Linked DNA regions of Homo sapiens: region 2 is linked to region 1. The links are contacts of gene promoters, found by promoter capture Hi-C in human tissues and cell types (Jung and others, 2019). All regions are on one chromosome and are shown on one strand. Each heading gives the region's core, a stretch centred on a gene start or on the middle of the fragment in contact. The rest is flanking DNA. Distances are from core to core; before and after follow the strand shown.

What was found. The method cuts DNA at HindIII sites, captures the fragments that hold promoters and counts their contacts. A contact is called where the count stands out against the background at its distance.
Region 2: the fragment with the promoter of ZNF653 here is called in contact with the fragment with the promoter of TMED1 in region 1 in 1 of the 25 tissues and cell types used here (spleen).

The regions. Positions count from the first base shown.
Region 1 is chr19:10,833,621-10,838,392 of GRCh38, forward strand. TMED1 (transmembrane p24 trafficking protein 1) reads right to left here and starts at 2,592. Exons shown (of 4, transcript NM_006858.4): 1 at 2,389-2,592; 2 at 1,636-1,733; 3 at 1,314-1,497. The coding sequence starts at 2,571. It also overlaps a transcript of C19orf38 not described here. RefSeq lists enhancers at 1,090-1,727, 2,365-3,001, 2,767-2,866. The HindIII fragment of the contact is 15,983 bases long and covers 1-4,772 here.
Region 2 is chr19:11,503,817-11,508,588 of GRCh38, forward strand. It overlaps ZNF653 (zinc finger protein 653), which reads right to left and starts at 2,023. Exons shown (of 9, transcript NM_138783.4): 1 at 1,672-2,023. The coding sequence starts at 1,970. ECSIT (ECSIT signaling integrator) reads right to left here. Exons shown (of 8, transcript NM_016581.5): 5 at 4,175-4,232; 6 at 3,886-4,034; 7 at 3,641-3,746; 8 at 2,113-2,612. The coding sequence ends at 2,368. RefSeq lists enhancers at 1,119-1,188, 3,641-4,418 and silencers at 1,339-2,008, 2,169-2,218. The HindIII fragment of the contact is 10,042 bases long and covers 1-4,772 here.

The DNA of each region.
Region 1 (4,772 bases), core at 1,342-3,841:
ATGTGCAACTGCAATCCCAGCTACTCAGGAGGCTGAAGCAAGATTACACCTGTAATCCAAACACAGGAGGATCACTTAAACCCAGGAGTTCAAGACCACCCTAGCCAACATGGTGAAACCTCGTCTCTACAGAAAACAAAAAATTAGGCATGGTGGTGCACACCCGTAGTCCCACTGAGGTGGCAGGATTGCTTGAGCCCAGGAGTTTGAGGCTGCAATGGGCTATGATCACACCACTGCACTCCAGCCTGAGTGACACAGCAAGACCTTGCCTCGCCGTAGCTCACACCTGTAATCCCAGAGCTTTGGGAAGCCAAGGCAGACAGATCCCCTGAGGTCAGGAGTTCGAGACCAGCCTGGCCAACATGGTGAAACCCTGTCTCTACTAAAAATACAAAAATTAGTCAGTCAGGCGTGGTGGCACAGCTATTCAGGAGGCTGAGGCAGGAGAATTGGCTGAACCTGGGAGGCAGAGGTTGCAGTGAGCTGAGATCGTGCCACTGCAATCCAGCCTGGGTGACCAAGAGAGATCTGTTAGAAAATAAATAAATAAGTAGTTAATTAAAATACTAATAAATGTACAGAACATATTTGCTTGTGGTTAAGAGCATAGTTGCTGAAACCAGCATGGGTTCAATACCAACTCTGCTAGTTGGTCTGTGTGGCCGTGAGTTGCTCAGCCATCTTGTATCTCACTTTCTCCACCTGTAAAATGGGGATGACTTGAGCACAGGGTCTGCTTCACAAGGTGGTTTGGAGATTTACGGTATGAGTTATTTATGATATGAGTTCCTTAAACCTTTACACCAGGGTTTATACCTAGAAATGAACTACTTTTTTTTTTTTTTTTTTTTTTGAGACGGAGTTTTGCTCTTATTGCCCAGGCTGGAGTGCAATGGTGCGATCTCGGCTCACTGCAACCTCTGCCTCCCAGGTTCAACTTCCACCTCCTGGGTTCAAGTCATTCTCTGGCCTCAGCCTCCTGAGTAGCTGGGATTACAGACGCCCGCCACCACACCCGGCTAATTTTTGTATTTTTAGTAGAGACGGGGTTTCACCATGTTGGCCAGGCTGGTCTCAAAACTCCTGACCTCAGGTGATCCACCCGCCTCAGCCTCCCAAAGTGCTGGGATTACAGGCGTGAGCCACCGTGCCCGGCCTGAAATGAACTACTTATTTTAAGAGCTGCTACTCTTACTATAATTCAGTTGGAGGGCACAACTACGGAGGGGAGGCTGGGTCAGCCCAAGGGGGGCACCCCAGGTGAATCCTAGAGATCTGGAAGGAGTGGCCCCAGCGCAGCCTGGACACACCTTGATGTCCTCCATTTTAACATCCAGCATCTCCTCGGGCTCCACAGCCTCTGCCCATCCTTCGACCTCCTCGTCATCCTGGAGGCTGTCAAAGATCAGTTCAAAGAACACCAGCTTCTCGGAGATGGTGCTGAAGGAGTTGTCAAAGCACAGCTTGTAGTCCCCGGCCTCCGTTGGCTCCACCCTGGGCAGACAGACACACAGACATGACCCAGGGTGGCCAGCCAGCCGACTCAGCGGGGCAGTCAGGGCGGTAACCTGAGGCCGCCTGGGAAGGGCAGGGCTGTAACTGAACCCAGGCAGGCATCAAGACTGAACTCACGTGTGTACCCCATCAGCCTTGCGGGACTCGCTGACCAACAGCACGCCCTGAGGGCTCTCCAGCGTGAAGTCCACGTCCAGTCCAGCACCTCCGATCACCTGGGGGGCAGGTAAGAGCGGGTGGAGGGCTAGCGGTAGGCCAAGGGCGCCTGCCGAAGAGGGCTACGGCTGAACCAACACTGATCAATACAGACCACCAAGGGCTTACCTGAACGGCGGCACACCCACACCCGCCCCAACCTGTCCCAGTGGCTGCGCCCCTTGCCTCCACCCTCATTGATATGACAGCTTGGGGTCCATACTTTCAGCTGACCACGCACCTACCAAAAGTACTTAATGGACGTTTACCTGACCACGCCCCTGGTTGGCTCCGCCTCCGAAAGAGGATAGGCCCAGCCTTTTTCCTTAGTCTAACCCCCGAGAAAGGCCTGTGTGGGCAACGCCCCCGCAGTTGACCTATCAGCACTATCGCCACGCCCACCAGCCAGAGTCCTGTCCTCTCAGAGGCTCCCTATACTTATCGATGGCCCCGCCCCCTCTGGATCTCTTACTCTAGCCCCGCCTGCTTCATTACTCCCTCCCCTTCCGCTCCCACACACCGTCCCCGCCCCATCTGTCCATCTCTTTCTAGCTCCGCCCCCGCGCTCCCAAGCACGGATTCCTCCCCCTTCCTCCTAAAGCGCGCCTCGCCTCGACCGCTTGGCCACGCCCCCTCTCCCTGACTCTGCTGGCCGCCCAGCCCGCGACCCTCTACCTGGTATTCGGTCTCGAGGCTTGCGTTGGCCGGCGCGGACTGGTAGAAACACTGCTTCCTCCCCGCCGGCAACAGGAACGTGAACTCACCGTCCTGGATTGGCGGGGGCCCCGCCCCTCCCACCTCCACTGGTGGCATTAGTAGCCACAAGGCCAGGGCTAGGGCCGCGCCGGCCGCCATCATCCGGGTCACCCTCTGGTCTGCAAAGGGGTCGCGGCTCCTTTAAGCGCTAGCCCTGCCCCGGTGCTACTCGGCGGAGCTCATTGGCAGTGGCTTCTGTATGTTGTCCGTAACCAGAGGTGCCAGGAGTGAAGGACCCCCCCACTAGAGGGCAGGCGGCCCGAATGAATGCCTGATGTGCCCAGAAACACTCAACCGTCTGGGAATATTTTTCTCAAAGGCTTCGGCTCTCTTCTCGGCCGCTGGTGGAGGAAAATTACAAAAATAAGTGCCATGATGGCGCATCTTTTGTAGGCAGTAGCTAAGACAACTAAAGTTACAGGCGGCAGGGTCCTTTTTAGTCACCTCCACGTGGTTTTCCCAGAGTGCGCCGCGCGTGACAACCTTTGGCGGGACCGACGTGGTGGAGTGGACCCAAAAATAGCGTCTAGGCGTGGCCCTGTACGCGACCCGTAGGGCTCGCCTATAAAAGGGCTGGGGCGGGGCGGAGATACCTGTGGCGTCGTGTTTTGCTTGCTCTGTGAGCGTGGTCCAGGTTCGACGCCTTTTGCGCCTTAGAGGCATCAGCGTATCAGTTTCCTCGTAAGTCGGGAGTGATGGAACGACCACCCTGTAGTGCGGCTGTGAGAATTGAGATGAGGCTTGGTTCATATTGAGTGCTCAGCTTTCCTGGCTTATAGACAGTGGAGGGGCGTGGCCCCACCATGCACCCCAAGGGTCTCAGACTCAAGGGCCAGCAGGTAAATAGAGCCATTACAGTAGCCTCGGGTCAGAAAAACGACAGCCCAGGTAGGAAGAGATAAGGACAGTGTGGGACTGGGAGCCACGTTGCCTGGTTCAGCTCCTGCCCCACCCATTACTTGAGGCATTCCCTCTGTTGAGCCTCAGTTTCCTCTTCTGCAAAATGGGGATAATAGGCCTACGCTACTGGGCTGTCTTTAGGATACGTGAAATGCTTGTTGAGTGCTTGCTTCCGCAGTGCGTGGGACATCACAGGCCCTCAGTAAATAATAATCTGTTATTTGGTTCCCGTCTAAACATAAACTGTGTACAGGGAGATGTTTAGTCTTCAAAGATAAACCCGGAAAAGGTTGGCAGGTGATGACAAAGATCCCTCAAATACAGCTGGCTGTTGTCAGCACTTTCCTGCATTTGGAGAATTTGGGGAAGTAGCTCTTTGTAATATCAGTTTGGTATTCCTTTTCACTCCAACTTTTTCTATCATTTACACTCACTGCTTGGACAATTTGAAGTAACAGTGGAGAACGGGTGACTCCTTTTCTTTTTTTTCTTTTTTTTTTTAATTTTTTTTTCCTTTTTTTTTTTTTTTTTTTTTGAGACAGAGTCTCCCTCTGTTGCCCAGGCTAGAGTGCAGTGGCGCGATCTCGACTCACTGCAACCTCCGTCTCCTGGGGTTCCAGCGATCCTCCTGCCTCAGCCTTCCGAGTAGCTGAGACTACAGGCACGTGCCACCACACCTGGCTAATTTTTTGTATTTTTAGTAGAGAGGGGGTTTCACCATGTTAGCCAGGATGGTCTCGATATCCTGACCTTCTGTTCCATCCACCTCGGCCTCCCAAAGTGCTGGGATTGTAGGCGTGAGCCACTGCACCCGGCCGGATTTTTTTTAGGACAGGGTCTTGCTCTGTTGCCCAGGCTGGGGTGCAGTGACGCCATCATGGCTCACTGCAATCTCTACCTCCTGGGCTCAAGTGATTCTCCCACCTCAGCCTCCTGAGTAGCTGGGACTACAGGTGTACACCTCCATGCCTAACTAATTTTTTGTAGACATGAGGTTTCCCTGTGTTGCCCAGGCTGGTTTCAAACTCCTGGGCTCAAGCCATCTGCCTGCTCCCTCACCCTCCCAAAGTGTTGGGATTACTAAAATTGATTTTTTTAAATACAGTAAAATTCACATTGCATAAAATTAACAATTTTAAGGCCGGGTGTGGTGGCTTACACCTGTAATCCCAACACTTTTGGAGGCCAAGGCAGGCGGATCATGAGGTCAGGAGATCGAGACTATCCTGGCTAACACAGTGAAACCCCGTCTCTACCAAAAATACAAAAAATTAGCCAGGCGTGGTGGCGGGTGCCTGTAGTCCCAGCTACTCTGGAGGCTGAGGCAGGAGAATGGTGTGAACCTGGGAAGCGGAGCTTGCAGTGAGCCCAGATGATGCCACTGCACTCCAGCCTGGGCGACA
Region 2 (4,772 bases), core at 773-3,272, 670 kb after region 1:
AACAGGGCTGGGCACAATGGCTTACACCTGTAATCCCAGCACTTTGAGAGGCTGAGGCCGGAGAATCACTTGAGCCTAGGAGTTTGAAATCAGCCTGGGCAACACAGGGAAACCTCTGTCTCTACAAAAAATACAAAAATTAGCCAGGTGGAGTGACGTGCACCTGTGGTCCCAACTACTCAGGAGGCGGAGGTAAGAGGATCACTTGAACCCACGAGGTTGAGGCTGCAGTAAGCCGTGATCATGCCACTGCATTCCACTCTGGGCGAGAGAGTGAGACCCTGTCTCAAAAAGAAAAACGAGGGCCGGGCGCGGTGGCTCACGCCTGTAATCCCAGCACTTTGGGAGGCCGAGGCGGGTGGATCACGAGGTCAGGAGATCGAGGCCATCCTGGCTAACAGAGTAAAACCCTGTCTCTACTAAAAATACAAAAAATTAGCCGGGCGTGGTGGCGGGCGGCTGCAGTCCCAGCTACTTGGGAGGCTGAGGCAGGAGAATGGCGTGAACCCGGGAGGCGGAGCTTGCAGTGAACGGAGATCGTGCCACTGCACTCCAGCCTGGGCGACAGAGCAAGACTCTGTCTCAAAAAAAAAGAAAAGAAAAGAAAAACGAACAAAAAAACCCCCCAGACCTTTGAACAAGCCATCCCCTCTGCCCACCAGAATGTCCGCTCCATGAGGCAGGTATCTTTGCGCTCCCAGCATTTCCAGTCCTGCTCTTGAGCATATAAGCCAGCCTGCTGTCCTGGGAAAGGGGTGGGTATAACTTAGCAGGATCTGTTTGATTCTTGACTCTCAGAATCTCCCCCCAGAGAAACATGAGAACATGTGTACCTGAAAACCAGGGCAGAACAAGGATTTCCTTGCGGCACTGCTTGTGATACGGAATAAACGTCATCCTCGTAAAAGTTAATACTTAGGGAACCCACTACCTGCCAGGCACTCTTCTAAGCTCTTTGCCTATTTTAACTCAATCATCACATCAACATATAAGGCAGGAAGGGAAAAACTCCATCCACACTGCTCCTTCTCAAGACTGAGAATTTACAAAGACAGGCCTCTCTGCCCTCCACCTGCCAAGCTAACTAGGGGTTTCCTCTTCATCCGAGTCTCCCTGGGCTGAGTTGCTTCACAGAAATAGGTTTAGGGGAGTGCAGTCCAGGTTGTGAAGGGTCCCCCGGATGTGTTGGATCTAGGGTTGTGGGAATGGGGCCATACGGAGTCCCAGATGGGGCACCAGAACTTCAAGAAGGGCAGGGCTGAGTGCCCCAGGGTGTCCAGAGTCCCAGGCCAGGTGGGGAACTAAGCGGGGGAGGATGAGACCGGTGAGGGGGCGGGGCTGCCCCCCCAGGGCCTGGTTAGTTACAAGGCCTGGAGGTGGGGCCAGTCCCAGGATTGGGCCGCCAGAGTTCTAGCGGGCGGGGCCAAGCGCTCAGAAGGCGGGTCGAGGGGCTGGGTGCACCCTAGGATTGGGCAGTCGGAACGATGGGAGGCGGGGCCACGAGCCAGGCGCGTCCCGGCCAGGCAGTACGAGACCCAGGCCGCCGGCCCGGCTCCTGGGCGGGGTCCGCAGGTGCCGGGGGCTGGCCCTAGAAGCGGAGGGGGCGGGGTAAAGCCCGGCGGGGTCTGGGGGCGTCTCCTCCCTCCCTCCCTCGGGGCCAGGCCCCCTCACCCGTGGCGGCCGCTCCGCTGGCCGCGCTCCAGAGAGATGAGGTAGGCGGCGAGCTTGGCGTCGCTCCAGCCGCTGCGGCGCCGCAGGTCCACCCAGGGCCCGTGCGCCTCGCCCAGGTACACGCGCCGCACGTCGTACTTCTTCCGGGACTCGAGCCGTCGCCGGGCCCGGTCCGACTCCGTGAGTCGCGGCCGGCCCCGCGCCTTTCGGCCCGCTGCGCCCTCCTCGGCTGCTGCCTCCCCGCCCGCGCCCGCCTCAGCCTCCGCCTCCGCCTCGGGCTCTAGCGCCCGCTCCGCCATCCCCCCCACCCTGGTTACCAGCCTCCCCCGTTGTTAGGAGCCAGACCGGAAGTGGCGCGCATCTTCGGCGCCGCCGAGAAATTTCTCACGGTCTCTCGCTGCCCCAGGGCGCCAAAAGGAGACCAAGAATGGAAACTGCGCATGCGCACAACCAACAGCGCTCCCGCCCCTTTTTATTTGAATTCGGAGAACCAGAGGCGCCTGCAGATTCTGGAGGGGTCTCGCCTGCCCATCGCTGGCAGCCCGAGATCCTGGGGAGGGGATGCCATACTGCTAGAGATGAGGGAAGAGAGCCCCAAGCAGGAAAACATTGATTTGCTGTACACTCAAAGGGCATCTCATGCCTTCAGTCCACCGCCTCCTCGGGCCACAGCCCGTGCCCTCGCGCCGGCTCAGACTAGCTCTGGCCCTGCTGCTGTCGCTGCAGGTTGTCGTCTTCTTCCTGGTGGTCCTCGGGCAGGGGCGGCTCCTCCAGCCCTGCAGAGGATGTCTGGAGCTCCCGGGTGGACCCGGCGAGGCGGAAGACCACGGGGATCTGGGCCAGGGTTGGGTTGGTCTCCTGCAGGCCCTGGATCCACTTAGCCATCGTCGCCTGGTCATGAGCACCCGCCATGCACATGGCGAAGACAGGGCCTTCCTCCACTGTTGGAAGACATGCACCCTTAAGGTTTGCACAGTGGGGGCTGCAGCGGCTAACCCATGCCTACACCTTTTTGAGGTATTTTACACTCCCTTCCACTTCCTTTTTTTTTTTTTTTTTTTTTTTGAGACGGAGTCTCGCTGTGTCACCCAGGCTGGAGTGCAGTGGCGAGATCTCGGCTCACTGCAACATCCGCCTCCCAGGTTCAAGTGATTCTCCTGCCTCGGCCTCCCGAGGAGCTGGGATTACAGGTGCACAGCACCACGCCGGGCTAATTTTTAAATTTTTAGTAGAGATGGGGTTTCACCATGTTGGCCAGGCTGGTCTCGAATTCCTGACCTCAAATGATCTACCCGCCTCAGCCTCCCAGAGTGCTGGGATTACAGGCGTGAGCCACTGTGCCCGGCTTCCTTCCACTTTCTTGTGCCTCCAAACCTTTGCACAAGCTAGCCCCGCTGCCTAGGCTGCCCACTCCACACTTCACCCGGGCGATGACTCCTGGTTTTTCTGTATTCTGCCAGGAAGGCCTCCTGACCCCCCACTCAAGGCATGCTCCTCTCCTAAGCTCCCCAAAGTGTAATTTGCCTGTTCCCTTGCTGACTCGAGGGACTAGGTTTGTCCTGGTGACACCCAGTAGCCAGCACAGAGTTGTAGGAGGGAGGGAATGAACAAGGGCCAACAGGGCTGGGTGACCTCAGGTCTGGAGCCCCTGGGGCAAATGAGTGTGTGCGGCCGGAGGACGAGGGTGTAAGTGGACTGCGTCTCAGCCTGGGCCTACCCCTTGACCCCAGAGGCCGCCCCTCATCCTGGGTGGTGTTTGGAATGTTTGGAAGTCCTGCCTGTCCAGGTTTTTGCCTTTTTTTTTTTTTTTTTTGACACAGGGTCTATCATGTAGGCTGGAGTGCAGTGGCTCTATAATAGTTCACTGCAACCTCAACTCCTGGGCTCAAGTGATCCTCCCACCTCAGCCTGTAGGAGGGCTGGGATTACGAGCACACATGTGAGCCACCGCACCTGGCCCAGTTTTTACCTTCATTGATGTCAAACTCGTAGTTGTCCCAGCCACTCCTCACATACTCCAGGTCCAGCTGCATCGGGTAGTAGAGGTTCCACTCCTCCGGCGTCTCTTCCACTTCCTACTCCAAGGTGGGGAGTGCAGGCGGGGTCAGAGGCCAGGGCTCTCTCGGTCTCCCTCCTCCAGCCTCTCCCATGCACCCTCAGGGTAGTGCCAGCCCACTCCCCAGCCCCAACACATGCTTTGCTTTAAGCCCTCACCCTCTCCTCCGGGGGCAGCAAGTCAGCTCTGAGGATGTGGTAATACACACACTTGTTGCGGAGCCACAGGGAGAAGGGGCCCTCAACAAAGACAGGCCGGGCTGGATTGTGGCGGGCCAGGGCGGCCTGCTGATCGGGACTCTGGATTCCTGGTGTGGAGACATACATGCCCTGTGCCCTGCAAGGGACTCGGCCCAGAGGCCCAGGGAGCCCAGCCTAGGCCCAGCGAGAACCTGGCAGGGCCTGGGTAAGGTTAGAGACTTGGCTGCCCCCATGCTCTCGGACTTACCTACGATGTGGGGCTGGGGGGGATCTGCTGCACCTGTTGAGTCTTTGGGCAAAGGAACCTGCAAGGGAGAGTAGGGATATAATCTTGTAACCCCCAATCCCCTACAGAGGAACTGGGGACAGAGAAACAGAAAGGGGGATACCAGGGAATTCAGGACACCTCTCCTGGATCTGGTACACGGCCCTCCAACCTGTCCCCTCCTCCCTCTGTCCCATTTGGCAATAACCACCAATCTTTAGGATGCTCACCCTGAGGGAACTACCCTAGAACCAGCCCACCTTTGTCAAAATCCTGGCTCTGTCACAAGCTGTGTGACCTTGGCCAAGTCACTGTACCTGTGTGCCTCAGTTTCTCCAGATGCACAATAGGGATGATAACAGCACTTAATTCCGATTTTTTTTTTTTTTTTAGGGATGGGGGTCTCCCTCTCTGTCATCCATGCTGGAGAATGGTGGCATGATCATAGCTCACTGTAGCCTTGAACTCCTGGGCTCAAGTGATCTTCCTACCTCAGTCTCCCAAGTAGCTGGGTCTACAGGTGCACACCACTATGCCTGGCTAATTTTATTTTTTTAATTTTTGAAATGGAGTTTTGCTC